7 separate regions of the Homo sapiens genome follow, and all the other regions are linked to region 3. Evidence: promoter capture Hi-C in 16 types of primary human blood cells and fetal thymus (Javierre and others, 2016). All regions are on one chromosome and are shown on one strand. The core of a region is centred on a gene start or on the middle of the fragment in contact, and the rest is flanking DNA. Distances in the headings are between cores, read along the strand shown. Region 1 has its middle 58 kb from the start of C13orf42. Region 2 holds the start of NUDT15 (nudix hydrolase 15). Region 3 holds the start of EBPL (EBP like). Region 4 overlaps C13orf42 (chromosome 13 open reading frame 42). Region 5 has its middle 76 kb from the start of C13orf42. Region 6 has its middle 49 kb from the start of RNASEH2B-AS1. Region 7 has its middle 69 kb from the start of RNASEH2B-AS1.

What was found. The method cuts DNA at HindIII sites, captures the fragments that hold promoters and counts their contacts. A CHiCAGO score of 5 or more calls a contact.
Region 1: a contact is called between a fragment that was not itself captured here and the fragment with the promoter of EBPL in region 3, in 1 of 17 cell types (total B cells). The highest score is 7.8, in total B cells.
Region 2: a contact is called between the fragment with the promoter of NUDT15 here and the fragment with the promoter of EBPL in region 3, in 6 of 17 cell types (total CD4 T cells, activated CD4 T cells, total B cells and 3 more). The highest score is 12.5, in total CD4 T cells.
Region 4: a contact is called between a fragment that was not itself captured here and the fragment with the promoter of EBPL in region 3, in 1 of 17 cell types (naive B cells). The highest score is 5.1, in naive B cells.
Region 5: a contact is called between a fragment that was not itself captured here and the fragment with the promoter of EBPL in region 3, in 1 of 17 cell types (total B cells). The highest score is 5.8, in total B cells.
Region 6: a fragment that was not itself captured here is called in contact with the fragment with the promoter of EBPL in region 3 in 1 of 17 cell types (naive B cells); the score reaches 6.6 in naive B cells.
Region 7: a contact is called between a fragment that was not itself captured here and the fragment with the promoter of EBPL in region 3, in 2 of 17 cell types (total B cells and naive B cells). The highest score is 7.7, in total B cells.

The regions. Positions count from the first base shown.
Region 1 is chr13:51,051,803-51,054,502 of GRCh38, forward strand. It overlaps the pseudogene GUCY1B2. Among named protein-coding and RNA genes, the nearest start is that of C13orf42, 58 kb to the right of the region's middle. The HindIII fragment of the contact is 286 bases long and covers 1,268-1,553 here.
Region 2 is chr13:48,036,344-48,039,144 of GRCh38, forward strand. It overlaps NUDT15 (nudix hydrolase 15), which reads left to right and starts at 1,383. Exons shown (of 3, transcript NM_018283.4): 1 at 1,383-1,561. The coding sequence starts at 1,404. LOC124903172 (a long non-coding RNA gene) reads right to left here and starts at 1,649. Exons shown (of 2, transcript XR_007063788.1): 1 at 1,263-1,649. RefSeq lists enhancers at 511-1,387, 1,388-2,263, 1,430-1,669, 1,720-1,879. The HindIII fragment of the contact is 6,950 bases long and covers 348-2,801 here.
Region 3 is chr13:49,690,012-49,692,756 of GRCh38, forward strand. EBPL (EBP like) reads right to left here and starts at 1,475. Exons shown (of 4, transcript NM_032565.5): 1 at 1,243-1,475. The coding sequence starts at 1,413. RefSeq lists an enhancer at 770-1,767 and silencers at 1,231-1,370, 1,401-1,600. The HindIII fragment of the contact is 12,052 bases long and covers 1-2,745 here.
Region 4 is chr13:51,082,145-51,084,922 of GRCh38, forward strand. C13orf42 (chromosome 13 open reading frame 42) reads right to left here. Exons shown (of 4, transcript NM_001351589.3): 4 at 1-2,181. The coding sequence ends at 2,007. Among named protein-coding and RNA genes, the nearest start is that of C13orf42, 28 kb to the right of the region's middle. The HindIII fragment of the contact is 535 bases long and covers 1,058-1,592 here.
Region 5 is chr13:51,033,828-51,036,527 of GRCh38, forward strand. It overlaps the pseudogene GUCY1B2. Among named protein-coding and RNA genes, the nearest start is that of C13orf42, 76 kb to the right of the region's middle. The HindIII fragment of the contact is 1,327 bases long and covers 654-1,980 here.
Region 6 is chr13:50,958,395-50,961,186 of GRCh38, forward strand. It overlaps a transcript of RNASEH2B not described here. Among named protein-coding and RNA genes, the nearest start is that of RNASEH2B-AS1, 49 kb to the left of the region's middle. The HindIII fragment of the contact is 1,556 bases long and covers 601-2,156 here.
Region 7 is chr13:50,978,094-50,980,806 of GRCh38, forward strand. No RefSeq gene overlaps it. Among named protein-coding and RNA genes, the nearest start is that of RNASEH2B-AS1, 69 kb to the left of the region's middle. The HindIII fragment of the contact is 1,672 bases long and covers 460-2,131 here.

The sequences.
Region 1 (2,700 bases), core at 161-2,660, 1.4 Mb after region 3:
CTAGAAAAGCTCTCACTTTCCCTGATCTGGCTAACTTGATTCTTCCTTCCCAACTCAGTGTCAGAATCCCGATTCTGGACATTCTCAGCCACTTGCAGATCCGGGCGTCCCTGCTCTGAGCCCCCCGTGCTCTCTGTATCACCTGTCTTCGTGCTAACTGCGAGTGGAATTGATTTGCCCATCTGCATGCTTCCTAGACTACCAAGTTGAAGGATCATGACAATGTCATTTGATTTAATATCTTCAATACCTAGCCCTGTACCTGGCACACAACAAGTACTCAATAAATAATTGTAAGATAATTTCGGTGAGAGACCTAACTTGACAGAGGCTCACAGACTCTGTGTGTCAGGAGGAGACCTAGGAGTTAACCCTGGCTCTACCACCATCTAGCTGGATGACTTGGAGCAAATCTCACTGTGCCTCCATTTCTTCATTTTTACAAAGATAGTATTCAACTAGGTCATTGTCATGAAGACTGTCATGTCTGGTCCTCCCCTTCTCTCCCTCAGCCACCAATGATGTCTCCTTCCTTGACCTCTGATTCACTTAGAAGGATGCTTAAGGCATTTAAGCCAGCAGTTCTCAAAGTATGACCCATGGAACCCCTGCGAATACCTAAGGTGTTTTTAGGAATCCATGAGGCCAAACTATTTTCAAAACCAAATTAAGACATTATTTGCCTTTTGTACTGATTCATATTTGCACTAATGGCACATAAGCATTGGTGAGTAAAATTTGGTGCCTTATAGCATGAATCAAGACAGTGGCACAAAACTATTATATTCTTTTTTTAAATCTTCAGTATATTATTTATAGTCATCATATCCCTCATTGTCACATATGTGCAGTAAAAAAAAATGCCAGTTTTACTTTAGGTTGTTCATTTTGAGGTAGTAAAAATTACTAATGTTATGAAATCTTGACCCTGAGTATACATCTTTTGAATATTTTGTGTAACAGAATGGGAAGTACGCACTCAAATAAAGTACTTCTCCTATATGCAGGAGTGTGAATGGTCACTTCCAGGAAAAGTACTTACACGATTGAGTTATGAGATGAATTAGCCACTTTTTTTAATGGAACATCATTTCCACTTAAAAAACCACTGACAGACGAACTATGGTTACTCAGACTTGGATATTTGGCACACATTCTCTTAAGAAAATAACAAAGTTAGCCTGTCACTTCAAGGAAAATAACTGGCAGAATGTGTTGCCAATGACAAAACTCAAGTTTGGGGAAAAAAGTTGCATCTTATACTGTAAGCTTATTAGCATCCCAATCCTTAGAGGCTAAGGTGATGATGATATTGACAAATGCAATTTTGATATTGTATAGTGAAACATGTCAACATTTGTAAGATTAGCACAAGTCAGTGAGCTAATAGTTTCCAAATAACTCATGCAAGCTAGTACAAAATGATGCGAAAAAATTTCTATCCAAGTGTAACACAGATCAAGAGATTTTAATATAACAGAGTACGAAGAAGGTCATCAGTACAGTTACAGATTCAACATTATAACTGACCTTTGAGAAAATACGATTTGTCAAGCTTTTGTGAGGTTTAAAAGAATAGCCACAATTATCTGAGAAGAGTATTAAATTCTTCTTCCTTCCATATTTTCTTCACAAGTTTCAACCAAAATCATATCACAGAATACATACATTGCGGAAGATGGAATCCCACTTCCATTACTTCCATTAAGTCAGATATTAAAAGAGATTTCCAGAACTGTAAAGTAATGCCATCTTGTCATTAATTTATTTGAATAATATAGTTATCATAAAAATGTTACACTAACATGTACTATTATGTATTACAGCATAATTATATAACATATAATTATTTTAGATAAATTTAAAAATGTTTTTTTAATTTGTTTTAATTTCTAATACCATAAATACCCATAGATTAAACAAAAGCTCTGTGGGGTCTTCAATAATTTATGAGAGTATAAAGGCTTCTGAATACCAAAGTGTTTAAGAACTTCTGATTTAAATCAAGAGTGCTTCAGGTTTGCTTTGGAAGCTAATGAAGCTGAGGTTTCCAGGACAGGGAGGAAGCAGCCTCACCTGGCCCCCTCTAGCTTGAAGCCATCCCCAGCCTGAGGGGTCACCTTATATGCCCTGGTAGTGGTCCTGGATGCCTGTGGGTGGGGCTGCAGACCACCCAGTCCTCAGGACCACTTGCTTCTGGTAGACTCAACACACATCCAGACTCTACTCTAACCCCCAAAAAGGCATCTGAAAGAGAGGCTGCGCATTCCCAGTGGGGACCGCCTGGTCCAAGAGGACTTGCGTAAAAGTAGGGGAGATGGGTGGAACAGGTCGAGGGAGATCAAACGCTGGAGTTTTCCCAGGACTTGCCAACATGAAAGAAGCACACTTCAGCAAGAAACTGCTGAGAAAGTTATGGATGTGCATAAAGAAATTTGTCTAAGCTAACAATGAAAACAAAATACAATAAATACAATTTTCAGCCAGCCATGCTAGAATATTCATTCTATCCTCTTTATAGAAAATGACATTATAAAATCATTGTCCAATGAACAGAAAAAGCAAAATACAGCCAAAGATGCAGGAAAGTATTATAAAAGAGGGTTAGTTAATTTATGATACTAACAATAAAAACATGTTTCCAGCTTTTGATGTTTATGTTATCTGTCAGCTTTAAAGTTTTCTTCCTTAATTCTAAGA
Region 2 (2,801 bases), core at 133-2,632, 1.7 Mb before region 3:
TATGATGTTAGCTGTAGGTCTTTGTAGATGCCATATATCATGTTAAAGTTTCATTTTATTTCTAGTTTGCTCAGAGATTTTGTGGAGTTTTTTTAATCACAACTGAGTATCGGATTTTATTAATTTTTTTCTGCATCTATTGAGATGATTATATGTATTTCCTTTCTCCCTCTGTTAATATGCTGAATTACATTGGCTTTTCAAATATTAAGCCAACCTAGTATTTCTGGGATTAATCTCATTGTTCAATATATTATCCTTTTTATATACTACCATTTTTTGAGAAGATATTGTAAGTACCTTTGTAATGAATGTGAATGTTGATAGTGAGGAGAGATGCTGTGAAAAGCTTAATACCCATTTAGTATAACATGGAGAGTAAGCATATTACTTAGAAATAAGTAGGCAAATATCAGAAATACAGTTCAAAGAGTTAAAAGTGATTGTTTCTGAAAGTAGGAGGGTCAGGTTGCTCTTGTTGCGGTTTTTGCACCATTTTACTTCTTAAAATTATAGCTATAGGTCAGGCGCAGTGGTTCACGCCTGTTATCCCAGCACTCTGGTAGGCCCAAGTGGAAGGACTGCTTGAGGACAGGAGTTGGAGATCAGCCTCGACAAAAGACCGACAGCCCACCTCCACAAAAAAAAAAAAAAGAAAGAAAATTAGCTAGCTTGGTGAAAATTAAAATAAAATAAAATTACCAGTATGTGCACATTACTTTGGTAGAAGTAAAAATAATGAGAAAGAGAGAAAACCCTCCCAGTAACTAGTCATTTGTTTTTATGATTCAGCTGGTTTGTATTTTGCATGGTGCATGGTGTGCAAACATCTGAAAATGTCTGTTTTCCACTGTTTGTAACTAACTCTTCCCAGCATGATTTATCAATTAGCCTTTATTTCCTCCCATGACTTATGAATATACCTTAAGCATAGTTGTTTATAATGGGATGTTTCTAAACGACCTATCCTTATCCTGGTACCACGCTGATTTGAGCTACAGGGCAAATGGGTGCACCATGGTGGGCGAGGTCATTCACGGAAAAAAGAATGTGCAGTGGTGCCGAGGTTGGTAAGAGCAGGCGGCTTGTACATGTAAATGCATGGTTTGCAGGAATCTGGGAGTGGATAGGCTGACGGGTGATGAATATTCAAAGCACAACTGTAAGCGACTTTAGTTACAGCGAAACTCTAAGGCACGCTGCCCTTCGGAAGGAAACACGGCATTCCCCAACCTGATAGCCCTCCGCGACGCATTACGCACCGCGGACAGCTGGAGAGGCCGAGGCGCTCTCGCTTTGATTTCGGCGCCTCCGCCCTCGCGGGGAGAGATTGGCTGCGGCCGCGGGACGGGGTAGTGAGCGCGTCACTTCCTGCCGCTGCCAGGCGCGTCCTCCCGCGCGCTATGACGGCCAGCGCACAGCCGCGCGGGCGGCGGCCAGGAGTCGGAGTCGGAGTCGTGGTGACCAGCTGCAAGCATCCGCGTTGCGTCCTCCTGGGGAAGAGGAAAGGCTCGGTTGGAGCTGGCAGTTTCCAACTCCCTGGAGGTCATCTGGAGTTCGGGTGAGCAGCCGCGGACGCGAGGAAACCGGGGCGTGCGCAGAGGGACGAACTCACGCCGTGCTTGCTTCCGTGTGCCGTGCGTGAGAACGTCCGCGCTGACGCTGCGTCCTTTCTTGCGCGTTCCCTCGGTTCCTCCCCTCGACTTCTGGGCGACGTAGGATCGCGCCCAGGAGGGGGCGCTGTGCTGGGTCAGGCGAGGTCTTTGCTAGCTGGGTCTTTCCGGCTGCGCCCCTGCTGGGTGGTGGTTGGGAGTTCGTCTGTGAGGTGTGTTTCTCACAGCTTACACACAAAAGGAGGAAAGCAGGTGTGTGTAAACCTCCAGCAGCCCGATATTGTCAGCTAAGACATTGCACCGTTTCCATGTGATTGATTGATTGATCGATTGATTGATTTGAGACTGTGTCTCGCTCTGTAGCCCAGGCCAGAGTGCAGTGGTGCTATCTCCAGTCACTGCAACCTCCGCCTCCTGGGTTCAAGCGATTTTTGTGTCTCAGCCTCCTGGTAGCTGGGATTACAGGCGCCCGCTACCACGCCGTGCTAATTTTTGTATTTTTAGTAGAGACGGGGTTTCGCCATGTTGGCCAGGCTGGTCTCGAACTCCTGACCTCAGGTGATCCACCCGTGAGGTCAATGACCATAGCCAACATTGAGCTCTAATGGGCTTTTTGTTAAAGGCTGGATAATATGCCAAGCTCTTTGCATGTATACTTTCATTTGATCTTTACATAACTGGCATACTCAGTGGGCTAAATTTGATGGGAGAACAAACAGGAAATGGTTTTATTTTCTCCTTCCACTGCCTTCAAACATGATTTTTTCTTTCCCTCTTCAGTGACGTTTCCTGCAAATTCTATAGTTTTCTTGTCACTTGGTTATAAAAATAAATCACATTTGGGTCAGTATGATTCACTTCCAAGCATTTAAAAGTCCAATCCAATTTAAACCTTCAGTGTCACTTCCAGTTTCTAATCCCTCCCCTGCAGTGCATAAAGGAGGTGTGAGCCATTGTTCTGCTTTTCTGTATCCTCCTCCTCTTCTCACCTGGCTGTCTCTGAGTTTCCTTCTTTCTCCAGTGTGTTGGAGGAGGAGAGAGAGCAAGCCATTCAGGTGACTGATGCTGCTCTGATCCATCCATTGGTGTCCTCTGGGCATGATATCCACATGTGTGCTTTCTCAGGGTATGTTTGTCAGTTGTTGGGAAGTCCCACAGAGATTTTCCTGACATAGGTGACGGGCTTTC
Region 3 (2,745 bases), core at 225-2,724:
TGGTGACGGGCGCCCGTAATCCCAGCTACTCGGGAGGCTGAGGCAGGAGAATAGCTTTAACCCAAGGGGCGGAGGTTGCAGTGAGCCGAGATAGTGCCACTACACTCCAGCCTGGGCAACAGTGTTAGACTCTGTCTCAAGAACAACAACAAAAAAAAAGACAAAAAAAAAAAAAAAGAATTCTATAAATAAAGGAGTTGAGAGAAACATTCACTGTCCCTTATCTCTACATGTTGATTATCAGAATAAAAAGAATTCCAGCAACATCAGTCATGGGCACAAAGCCAACCCGTAAACATTTACAGAACTCGATGATTACCCAAAACTCGGCTTGCTTTCTCAATACTACTGACTTTGGCTTCACATTAGCCACAGGTGTGTCTAGAGTTAAACAAGGTCAACTTTACAAAAAAAAAAAAAAACAAACTGATACTTGGGCATAGTTTAAAAAAAACTTAAAAGTGTGTGTGTGTGTGTGCGTGCGCGTGTGTGGTGGGGGGCGGGGCATTTCAATATAAATGCCTTAAACACAACCTTCCTGGCTATTTTATAAAATGGGTTGAATCTCTAAGGACACATATTTCCTAAGACCTCGACTGATACACAGAGTGCAAACTTGGGAGCCAGACTAGACTGCCTCAGAATCATGCCAGCTGTGTGGCACTGGAAAGTCACCTAATTTTGCAGCGCCTACCTTCACCTCTGTAAAATGGGGAACAATAATAACTAATTTATGGATGCTGTAAAGATCTGAAATTTTAAACTCAGTAATGCGCCTGGCACACATTAGACACGGGTGTTTCGTTTGTCTTGGCAAAGGCTTCGGGTTTTGCGACAATAGCCTTGCTGCCTCCGGAGCAAGCATCTCTCCTTGCCCCCTCTGGGGCATTTAAAAATGACCTCAATTCTACTCTCAATTATGTCCAGTTCAACAGTTACGTGCAGGTTACAAAGCCGAGGAAGCTGAGGTATCTTCTAAACTAACATAGCACGTACAGAATTTTTTTAAAGTTTGGTGGAGGAATCGGCAGCACAAGGTAAGCTGCGCTCTGTTCACAGACCTGGGAATCAGAACTCCGGCCGCCGCGGCCTCCAGGCGCCTCTCAGCTAACAGACTTCCTGCAGCAGGGGGAGGGGCGGCCAGCTCGCTGCAAAAAGCCGCAGGACCCCCTCACCCCGCCTTGCCGCCCCCGCTCCCACTCTCTGGGATGGGGAGTGCAGGGTCTAGGCGATGGCACTTACCAGCGCGAAGTGCACCAGCGCGTCGTAGCAGAGCCAGATGAGCGCCCCGCGGTCCGCCGCCCCCTGCCCGCGGCCCAGGCGCAGGCCCAGGGCGCAGCCCGCCGCCAGCAGCGCGGCGCACAGCAGCAGCGAACCGCCAGCCTCGGCCCCCAGCTCCCACTCAGCGCCCATGCTTCAGGCTTCCGACGCCAACGGCCCAGGACCATGCGGCAGAGGAAAGCAGGGAGAGAAACGACGGGGCGGGGCTGGCCGGGAAGGGGCGGAGCCGGATGGCCAAGGAGGAGCGGAGCTGATTGGCCAAGGCGGTCCGGGGAGGGACGGGGCTCCCCGGCCGGGTCGGGGCCAGAGCGAGGATTCCGTGCCCGCCTCGCACCCTGGCCAGCCTGCTGAGTCCGGTGGTTTTGCCAGGTGCCGCCCATGGAGGTTCCGTAGAAGGAACGTGCTCACCAACTTGCGCAACCGCCTCGACCAAACCTGTTCCCAAACCGAGCCCAAAGGATTGGTAATAGGGCCACACCTTTTGATGTTGTTTCGCTTTTAACAAGGCTCAAACTTTAAGCCACAAAGTGAAGCCTAGGTAGTGGAAATTTTGCCAGTAGACCGGGGCAGAATTTTAGGGGCAAAAGGTTTTAATTAGGCTGCAGCAAGCCTTACCAGGGAGGCTGGGGGCCAAGGGAGTTTTCAGCCACCAGCCGGCTTAAAGCCTTTATGGCCTACTCTGACAATCTTTCCATTTCTTAAAAATCCAGAAAAGTAGAAGGGTGGGTGAGAGGAGCGGTAAGTCCTATTGGCTTGGCGATAGATGCGTTTAACCTGTGGCAGGCCAGGTTTCACTATCGCAGGCCTCCATCACAACTGCTTCAGCACTGAGTGGTTAAATTAAATATTAAAAGCTGAGGCCGGGCGCGGTGGCTCACGCCTGTAATCCCAGCACTTTTTGCCAAGGCGGGCGGATCACGAGGTCAGGAAATCGAGACCATCCTGGCTAACACGGCGAAACCACGTCTCTACTAAAAATACAAAAAATTAGCCGGGCGTGGTGACGGGCGCCTGTAGTCCCAGCTACTCCGGAGGCTGAGGCAGGAGAATGGCGTGAACCCGGGAGGCGGAGCTTGCAGTGAGCCGAGATCGCGCCACTGCACTCCAGCCTGGGCAACAGAGCGAGACTCCGTCTCAAAAAACAAAAAAAAAATTAAAAGCTGAAAGAGTCAGTGCCCATATACCAAAGTCTGGAATGTAACAAAAGCCCACCAAGAGTTTTGCCTAGGCCTTTCTTGGGCCTTGAAGCATGACAAGATAACTAAGGAATTTTTAACAGGACCCGTTTAGGATTAAACAAGTTTTATTGGGGGTCTGAAGAAACTCCCCAGGCCTCCAAAAACAAGTTTATTGGGAGTCTGGAGGAATTCCACAAGCCTCCATGATTTAGCAAGAGACAAAATAAGGGTAATCATCCCAGCACCCAGACCTATTTAGATTAAGTAAATTTACTGAGGCTCCAGA
Region 4 (2,778 bases), core at 75-2,574, 1.4 Mb after region 3:
TTTCAGATTTCATTTATCTCAAACCCCACCAGACACCATCTCAAGATTCCCCAGGCAGAGCACAGATCCTTGGGTTTATCACCAACTTCAAACACCTAAAAATGATCCCCAAAGACAAGACAACCTTCTGTTTCCCAATCATGGAATTTTTCAGGCTGTGTATAGTCTCATGAAAGACAAAAAACATACAAAACAAAGCAAAATAAGACGGCACAGCTTCATGTGCCATAAGCAATAAATGCTTTTTAAAAAATCAGGACTCCAAACATCCTCGCAGTCATGTTTATTTTTTCTTATCTTTAAAAACAAAATGTACACAGTATCTTCACCACATAATTTCAGGGTGGATCTATGATAAACTGTAGTTTGATAAGAGGCAGAGTAAAGACACCTTTATCCTGAGTTTATCCCCAACAATGAACTTTTATAGATGAGGCTTCAAACAAGGCCACATTTAGGGAAAATAAAAGATCTGTGGTGATAAATGGCAGTGCTTTAATGCAGTTTATAAAACAAATCTCCTAAACATTTACTTTCCAGTCAAGCTTCTGGCTATAGCTGGGTTAGTACAAGCAACAAAATGAAAGAAACTTTCCAAACATTGACATTGGCACTCGAAAAATAATAAAGAGAGGTATTAAAACATTTCTAGTATGGTTTCATTCTGAAAACATGTTGAGATAAAATTTCTAAGAATGCAATATAATTACTAGCTGTTTTTTATTTGTAAGAGTTACATATTCTTAGATTCATATGATCAGGTTCACATAAACAAAAGGTTCTTCCTAAAAAATGGAACAATAAGAATATCATCCCACAGGCATGGCAGAAAGGAAGCCTCTGTTCAGTTCTTAGCCTGACCTTAGCCTAGAACATCCTTGGCTTAATTCAAATGATTGTGGTTTTCTTTGTTTTGTTTTGTTTTCTGTTTTTTGTCTCTCTCCCTTCCTTCTGCCCAAAGACCCTTATACATGCACAGACTGGTTTACAAGAAAATGCCAAAAAAAGAAGTGAGAATAGATAAATTTCAGTATATTCTCCAAACCAGTGGTTCTCAAGCTTGAATGGGTACAACTATTGCAAAAATGTAAAAAGTATTTAGAAATACAAAGAATATATTTTAAATGTAATTCTGATTCAGATAGTTCCTAAAATACAGAAATCCTTTCTATACCAAAAGAACGTAATGATTCTGATTGTTCTCTTAACTGGGGAAAGGGAAAGGTGTGGCCTGTCATAAACTGGTTCCATGGATATTTAAAAAGATTTTTCTGGGTAAGAATTAGAAGAAAAAGAAAAGAATCACCCCATCTCCCTTCTTCTCTTGTCAATTGCCTATGTGAAGGGGAGCTGAGTTTTGGGGCCTGAGGAAACAGTGTGGCCCCCAGGCAGGCTCGTGACATACCCCTTCCCTCACCCCATTGCCAGGGCATTAGCCTCATCTTAGCTTAATGCAGCAGGAGTTTCTGGAAAACTCTGAAAAGAGAGCAAAAGGAGCTGCTTTCTCAACTGCATTCTGCACACAAGACGGCAACCTCAGTGCAGATCCAGCATGTCTCTGAGCCTCATAGAAAGAGGAGCTACCTCTTTGAAGCTTTGGCCCAGAAATCTACAGGTGAGTTCATTTCTGGTACTGAGCACATTGCTAGCAGCCACCTGGACAGACACGTGGAGAATGAGGACCAGGCCAGGTGAGGTCAGGGGAGTGAGCCCAGACACTCCACTCAAGACCTTCCATTCCTTCAGCTCTTGAAGACCAGCCAGGCTGTAAGTCCCTGGTCATCAGCCCACGCAGAGAAACTCAAGCTCTGAGAGTGTCCTGAGACCTGTCCCCTGGGAAGCCACAGGTCTGTTTGGCACTGGCACGGCACCAGCAGGCAGTGTGCTGAGTGGGTTGACTGTGTTACAATTGGCATTTTCAACTCTACCAAATACCTCATGCTGCGCTGAAAGCGGACAGCTTCTCAGGGACCCAGTCTGAGACACGTCAAGGAATCCAGATGGAGTCAGGGCACCGTCCGCTCCCAAAGTCTTTCTCGAAGCAGCCACTGTCCTTTGGGGTTCTCTGTCTCATAGTAGTCCTCCCCAGGAGACAACTGGGGCTCCAACGCAAAGAGCTCTGCATCCCACTCCATATCTTCTCCTGAGAAGTTGAAAAGGATCTGTCTGGAGCTCCCCAGGCTAGAAGGAAGGAATGAGGCAGGAGGTTTAAGTTCGGCTTGGCCGGCCACACAGAGGGAAGGGATGCTCAATGACCACCATTCTCATGGAGACCCTCAGATTGCTGCCCTAGTCCTGGGTCTTGGGGAGGACCAAATGGTGTCGCCATGGGGGCCATGGGTGGACCTCAGCTGGACCTTGGCCTGGCCTTGAAGGGGAAGGACGGGTGGTGAGGGCTGGGTTGTGATTTTAATATGTCCAGTGCATGGTCTGTTACTGTGGAAGGGAAATGCTATCTAGAAAGCCCCTAAATCCAACAGGGTTTAGTGGCTTTTGTAGAAGCAAAGGAAGACAGCTGATGAGGCTTGACAGGCCCTTCCGTTGTGACAGGCAAGGCCCTGCAGCATGGCCTGGGTTGCCCAAACCCAGAAAGAGCTTACTGCTCTGAGCGAGTGGATAACAGGAATTTGACGGTTAGTGATGGTAACTAGGCCTGGGGGAGGAGGATCTAAAAGGAGACAGGCCAGAGGAGATGGTGGTAAGATGGCCCAAGAGGGGCCTGGCCAGCAAGACGTTCTACATCTTGGAGCCTGCCCGGTGCATTTTAGAGAGGGGCAT
Region 5 (2,700 bases), core at 67-2,566, 1.3 Mb after region 3:
TCATTCTCTTCCAAAAAGAACTCCTGAGCCCACCAACACCAGGTACCAAGGATTCTGCAGATGGGAGGGTTCTCCTGCAACCGTGCCTCTGTTGGGGGAGGCGGGGAGCTGGCCCAGGACTGCCACAGCATTTGCTTCCTCTTGGGCAGCCAAGACCAGACTCAAGTGGCCTTACCTGATAAGAGAGTGCCAGGTAACTGTGGAGGGCATCCAGGTTTTCAATAAACTCCATGAGATTTCCTCCCAGTGTCCGTAGCATCCTGTCATAGCCAGACATCTTCAGAATTGAAAGTATTCTCCAAAGAGTTTCAGGATGGCTTCCATGGAGACACCTGTAGAAACCAAAGCATACCCCCTAAATAAAATCTCCTGGAGGTGTGTGTTGTCCTTTGTGTGGTCTTCATTTATTTCCAAAGGGTTCACATCCTGGCTGTGTGACACTATCGAGCTACTCTCTAAGCCGTCACTTGCCTCCTCGGTAAAATGCCAATAACCACATTGATGTCATGGGCCCTTGGGAGGAGCCCCGTGCAGCCTGGCACTGAGTAGGTGCTTGTGAAACATAAGTCTCCTTGACAAATACTTCCTCAAAGTCGAGAAGGGGATGCAGAGATGCTGTACCCGCTTAGCTGCTGAAGCCAGTGCCCAGAACAAGCTTCACTCTGGGTGGGGAGGGCGCGACCCTCCACGAACACTGCCAACACCTCCCACATCTTTAAATGTAACAGTCAGTCTCTAACAAGAATACAAGGATGCCTCTGAGAAATAACTAATACACAATGAAAAAACTATGCCTTCAAGGCTACAGGATCCTGATTTACCAAAAAGATGATACCAAATACTTGCAGTGTCTTTCCCTTTCTCTCCTGACCTCCCTGTGAGGCCCAGTGTTCCTGTTCCATTCTCCATAAAGATTTCTCTGAATTCTCTCTTCCTAAGTGTTGCATTTTTTTTTCTTCCTAATTCATGGTAATTCTGGAGAGAAGCAACCCGATCCTACACGTTTTCTGTGCTAAACACAGCATAGGTGCCTGATGAACACCTGGAGGTAGATTTGCGGCATTAGTTGGAGCTGCTGCCCACCTCCCCGCTCCCCAGTCTACACTGTTGGAATAGACAGTAAGCAAGTGTCCACTTTATGGGAAAGACAGCAAACATTTTAAAAGAATGTTTTATAGTTCTGACAACACACATTAATTACTGTTCTGTTACTCAATGTTTGCCCAGCTCTTATAAGGTAGCTAACCTTATTATCATGTCCTTTTTACAGCTGAGCCTGTTGGGGCTGAGTCATCTTTGTGAATTGACTGCAGTCACATAGAGTTGCAGAGGCCAGATTTGTTGAAGAGGCTCCAACTCTAAGTTTAGCACTTTTTATACCACATCCCCCAGCCTCTGAAGCAGCAATGAGAGAAGCAAGGAGTCTCCCCAAGGGAAGCGCTGCTTATGCGTTGGCATCATTGACACAGGAGACAGGGCATCCATCCATGCTGCTGGTCTGGAGATCCTGTGAGAAACACCCTCTTATTTACAATGGGGCTGTGACACATGTAAGTCCTGGGGGCTGGGGCAAATGTCTGTAATGCCCAGGTTTATGGAAGGCCTGAAGAGCTCACCATCACCAGTATCTGTGGTTGCATCCTTGAAAAACTCTGTGATGCTCTGGCTGGATTTGGAATTCACAGCAAGGGACATTCCAGGTCTCATGAGCTATCCAGGGCTAAATCCTACAGAGGACAGACGAAGGAGGTCTGGGCACTCTCCAGCCCCTGCTTGCTTCCTAGGATGGTCTGAAGAGCAGTTTCCCTACAGCTCATAGTCCACAGCCAGACCATGGGGCAGATAATTGTTCTGTAATCTGAGCAGGATAGAGTCCCCACTGAATTGGTCTAGTTTTGTCAGAGATGAGTTGTACATATTTTCCAAGATGAGTTATACATATTTTCCAAAAATTGATTAGTCGGATCTCAATCTAGACGAAGCTTGGGATGGTAGAGAAGCCAGTGGTAATGGCCTGTGTTAATTGCCTCCGTTGGCTTCTTTGCTTGTGGGTGCATCCTGGCCGGCCTCAGGCAGGCTTGTCTATACACTGGTATAAATTCAAGGACCACCTGCTAACCCCTAGGGGATCTGAGACAAATTCTACCAAGTTCCTTTCCAGTGCTTGAGTCTCTGGGAGGGGGACTGCTAAAAGGTAAACAGACAGATGGGAAATTGTCCTTCTGCTCTCCTGCTTCCATCCCTCTGTTACCTCTGATCTAGCTTATTCAGACTAAGAAAAAACAGCTGTGCTGTGCATCCTGGAGGCTGGAGCTCTGAGCAGGTGCATCCTGTTACCTGCCAGGAAAAGCAGGGGTCCCAGCGGCCCCCCTTCTCCCAAGAACCTCTGCCAGGAGGACTGGGCTGCGTGTAAGCCAAGCAAAGTTATATTCAAGTAAGAGTGGCAGCTTTGGGTAAAAGACTGCCTGTTTGACTTTCAAATCTTTAAACTTAAAAAATCCATGAAGCTGTTTGTTCCAGGCTCTGGTTATTTTGTTTGTGGATGCCCAGCTCTGTTAAAAGGAAAGGACATCTGGCTGAGAGATGAACTGTTTCCCAAACAAGGATCTTGGGTTTGAGTGTGGTGTTTTCCACCTGTAATGGGTTTGGAGCTTCTTCTAGAATTCTTAGTTGAGAATGCTTGTCCAGCAGGGAATAAAG
Region 6 (2,792 bases), core at 129-2,628, 1.3 Mb after region 3:
AGCTATAGGTGTGTGGCTTTATTTCTGGGTTCTCTATTCTCTTTCTTTGGCCTATGTGTCTGTTTTTGTATCAGTACTATATTGTCTTGATTACTGTAGCCTTGTAGTATAGTTTGCAGTTGGGTAATGTGATACCTCTGGCTTTGTTCTTTTTGCTTAGGATTGCTTTGGCTATCCAAGCTTTTTTTTGGTTCCATATGAATTTTAGAATAGTTATTTTCTAATTCTGTGAAAAATCACAGTAGTTACCTTTTTATAAACATTATTTTGTTACTATTTTCCCAGACTACTAACTGTTCTTCATAAATATGTTTTTTAATGACAGTATAATTTTTGATTATTTGGATATTTGATTATTTAATAACCATGATCCTGTTTGGACATTTGGATTATTCACAAATGTTCACTATTTGAAGAATCAGATTATAAGTAAATATTTGTCCACATATTTTATTGTTTCCTTATAATGGATTTTTGGATGTGGGCTTATTGGATTTTCAAATATATATTTATGGGAATATATTTCATGGAAAGTTTATAAGCTTTTGCACTCTAGGCTTATTTTAATGGTCTTGCACTCTAACAAACAGTGGGTGTGAAAGCTTAATGCCACCTTGTTAGCATTGGTTGTTACCTTTGGAAATAAGTGTAAAAACATTTTATTGTGGTTTTAATTCATATTTCCCTGATTAGTAGTGATTTTGAACATTTTTTCATACTTACTAATCAATTGTCATCTTATAGAGAATTGTCTTTTATATTCTTTGCTAAATTATTAGAGTATCAATATTTTTCTTATTGACTAAAAGTATTCTATAACTTAAGGACATTAATTATTTCTACTGTGTTTGTTGTAAATTTCCTTTCTTGGTTTATACTTTGCCTTTAATTTTGCCTATGATTTTTGACATGCAGGTGTTTTTAGTTTTTATGTAGACATATATACATAAACTTTTCCTTTACACAGATATTGTACTTAGAAAGATATTTCATTTTACAGGAAATTTAACCAGACACTTTTATTTTCTTCTGATTTTTTTAATAGTTATGTTTTTGGTTCTTTTTTGTTTTTTTTTTAGATGGAGTTTCGCTCTTGTTGCCCAGGCTGGAGTACAATGGCGTGATCTCAGCTCACCACAACCTCCGCCTTCAGGGTTCAAGTGATTCTCCTGCCTCAGCCTCCCGAGTAGCTGAGATTACAGGCATGTGCCACCACGCCCAGCTAATTTTGTATTTTTAGTAGAGACGGGGTTTCTCCATGTTGGTCAGGCTAGTCTTGAACTCCCAACCTCAGGTGATCCATCCGCCTTGGCCTCCCAAAGTGCTGGGATTACAGGCGTGAGCCACCACGCCTGGCCTATTTTTGTTTTATATTTAATTACTTAAATCATCTAGAGAATGTGTAATTATGTTTAAATATGCTGTGAGGTAAAGCTGTAATTTAATTATTTTCTCACCAGTTTAGTTTTTCATTTAATCTGTAGGATTATTTTGTCAAGTTCTAAGAGTAAGTTCCAATGGGATTTTTACTGAGATTTTGTTAGATGCATAACTTACTTTGGGAAAACAAACATCTTTACAAACTTAAATATTCTTATTTGGGAATATAGTATTTCTTTTTAGTTACTCAAGTCTTAAGAATACCTTTCACTAATGTTCGGTTCTTCATCTTCAATAGGTTCTAGACATATCTTTGTATGAGTATGTGTAGATATTTTCATTGCTATTAATGAAATCTGTTTTTTTCCAGCTAGGTCTACCAACTGGTCATTTTGTGGTAAAGTTTTATATTTTTATATATTTATCTTTTAAATAACCAGTTTACTAAACTATTAATGGAAAAATTTTCCATTTTATTTATTTTGGGTTTTAGTACATAATATAGTATGTAATTTAGTTTTTAAAAATTGCATGCAATTCTTTCTAATAGTTACACCTCTTTTATTATATATTTTACATTATATTACATGGGCTAGAATATCCAGAACAGTATTAAAGAGTAATAATAGCCGTCTTTGTCTAATTGGTGATTTTATTGATGTGCTTTACCATTAATTCTGACACTAGCTGTTGCTAATATGATAAAGACTATCCATCCTTTTATACTTAGTTTCCTTAAGGTTTAAATTAATAATTGGTGTTGGTTGTTATCAGAAAGCTTTTTGGCATCTATTGAGGTGTCTATAAAGTTTTTACTACTTACTATCAAACTGTACCCAAATGTCTAATAAACTCACCCTGGCAGTAGATAAAGGATCAATAGCATAATGGATACATCCTATCTTTCTTAACCTTTGTCAAATATAGTTTTCAATTAGACTTTCTACACTTTTATTAAGGAATTTTGCAGACATATTCATAAGCAATGCTGCTGTTAGGCTTTAGCGTTAGAATTAGGCTAGCTTTCCATTTTTTCCAATGTTCTGGAAGGATTCATTTTGCATTATTATATTCTATTGCTGGAAAATGTTTAAGAATCTTAGAGGTAAAACTATCTAGCACTGGAGCCTTTTTGTTGTTATAGTTTTCTTTAATCTGCAAGAGTTTCTCATCTGTTCTTTGTCTTACTTGACATTTTTGAGTACAGGGTAAATATTTGCTGGAATATTTCTTATTCTAATATTTCTTTTTGATTAAATTCAAGTCATACTCTTAGGGCACCTCCAGGAGTAATATGTCTTTCTCAGTACACCATGGCAGGAATCACAGTCTATCCCAATATCAGTGTTGTTGACTTTGATCACTTGATTAAGGTGCTGCCTACAGTTTTCATTGTGAATTATTGTTGATTA
Region 7 (2,713 bases), core at 46-2,545, 1.3 Mb after region 3:
CTGGGATTACAGGCGTGAGCCACCGCGCCCGGCCCCCAGTTAATGCTTTTCAACACAACCCTTTATATTTCCGAAGAATAAAGACTTGTAAAAGAGATGGGGGAGTTATGGCTGCAGAAAACTGGCCCTTACTTTGCTCTGCTGACAGTTTTATAAGGCCAAGGAAGTTCAAAAAGTAAAAAGACTTTCTAAGCAATTCCACAGAAATTCTAAGCATTTTCAGGAAACCCATTTTTAACTTTAAAAAAATATTAATACAAGATTAGTTGCAGTGATTTAATTAGTAAACCATGACAGATGGTTAACATGCAGCATTTTTTTTTTAATGTGAACAAAATCACCAGTTTTTTTTTCAGTTTGTTTTTTCTTATTAATCTTGGGTAAAGATTCCTTGGGTCTTCAAAGATAACTACTCAGTCTACTTTTTAAATGGATAGTTTGTCTGAATAATTTTGTTAAAGCTTTAGTAAATGAATGTTGGGAGTGTAATTTCCAGAGTACAGGCTGAATGCAATGACCCCTAACACAGCCCAGATCTGGTCACCATGGACTGATGGCAGAGAGGATCCAGATATTTTGGTTGGATTCATGATTAGAGACTAAATCAGTATGATGCCTATGAAAAGGTCTGGTTTTTAAATATTTGCCATGGAGCTAGAGTAGAAGGCAGGGTGACAGAGGCAGCGGTGGCTGGAGTGTAACCAGCCCATGAATCTCAGGCAGGACAGGCTTGCATGCTTCTGTATATTTCTCTAGGAGAGAACACTGGGCTTCAAGGCTAGTCTGTTCTGTCTTCAGGCTCTAGGAATCTTCTTGTCAAACCCCTTCATTGGAAAAATGGGGCCTAGAAAGATTAGATGACTTTCCCAAGTGATAAGCTAAGAAAATACCCCGAATGCTTTAAATCCACCTTGAGGCTTCAATGTCTATGTGCTCTATAAAGTGAATCCCATATTGTTTTTCTTTAAAAGATTTTCAGAAATAGCTGCCTTTTACCCTTTACTCACACTAAAGTTTTGAAATACTAATGTTTCTGATTTGAAGATGGAGGTGGGAAGTTCATCCTCTATCCCCACCTCCCACCCCCAATCTCTTCTTTGAAATCATCCAAAGCAAAAGGAAAATAAGAAATGGAAACCAAAAAATCAATTTTCAGCAAAACTAGGAGGTATTTTAAACTATGAACAACAAATAGATGGAAGGACTGCAAAAAGCAGGGGAGCTTCCAGGAGAAAGAGGAAGGAAGAGTTCATGGCTGTGGAAATGAGACTGAGTCAGCAAAAATACATTTGTAAACAGAGAGGGCAGAGGTGAGGAATAAAGTCTAAGTCACATGTTTATGACAGAAGGAACCAGTATACACACCAGAACAGCAAGAACTCTCCAAGACCCAATTTAGTTGTGAAATGAAGAGGTGATGGAGTTAAAAAAAAAAAAATCACACATCCACATCACATTTGCAGGAACTATCTATCTCAGTGGCAGAGGGAAAGAAGAGAGACGTTGCTTTTTAAAAATCCCCATAGCTACCTGTCTTTATTGATCAGGGAGAAATAGAACTAAAACTTGCATGCAAAACCCTGGTTTATAAAGAAAATTCCTACTAGGCTGGGATGAGGCCCTGTAAATATTTGGCCCAAGGAAAACTCTTGTGCCTCAAAGATGAGAAACCAAAAAGAACAAACCCAAGTTATTTCAAAGATATGAAACATAAAACAAGAAAAAAAAAGACCAGAAAAAGTAAATGGCAGATAAAGTGTTGCCAAAGAGCAGATAAAAATAGTAAAAAGCATTTTACTACAAACATAAAATACTTAAACAATTACCTCTATGAAGTTTGGGCACAAAGTAGAGAGGGAAGAATCATGGAAGTCACAGAAAGACAAGTGATGTTGTTTGAGCTGGCGCACTACAGGGTAGGCATGGGGGAAAATGTAAACCATCAAAGAAACAAAGATGTGTTTGAAGGAAGATAGACAATAATAATAGCACAAGAGCTCAGAGGTTAAAAATAAGAAAACCAAGCAAAATGAAATTGATTTGGGTACAGGAAAGATTTATTAAACAGGACAAAAAGGTGAGCAAAATACTGATTTTTTAAAACCTGGTGATTGTAGAGTTCAAAAAAACAAGCTTACTTGTAAATATTAATGCAAAAATATTAAATAAAATATTACCAAATAGACTCAAACAATTCATTAAAAGAATAATACAATGTGACAAATTGGGGTTTATTCATAATATAAAGATGGTTCAATATTAAGAAGTCTTACCATATTAGTTATCTAAGAAAGAAATAAGGTATTATTAATCTCCTTAGATACTTAAAAGATACTTGGTAGCACTTCTTCTTGTCGCCATGTGAAGAAGGATGTGTTTGCTTCCCCTTCCATCATGATTGTAAGTTTCCTGAGGCCTCCCTAGCCCTGTGGAACTGTGAGTCAATTAAACCCCTTCCTATATTAAAAAAAAAAAAAAGATACCTAGTAAAATTCAACTGCCATTATTGATCTCAAAATAATTCAGTGAAATAGGAATAGATGTGTACTTCCCTAATTTATACAAAATAAAAGTCAACATTATGTTTAGTGGAGAAATATCAGTAGTGTTACCATTAAAGTCAGGAGTATGATAAGAATGTTTTAAACAAATAAGAGAGAGAAAATAGACATATACAAATTGAAAAGAAGTAAAATTATCATTACTTGCAGAT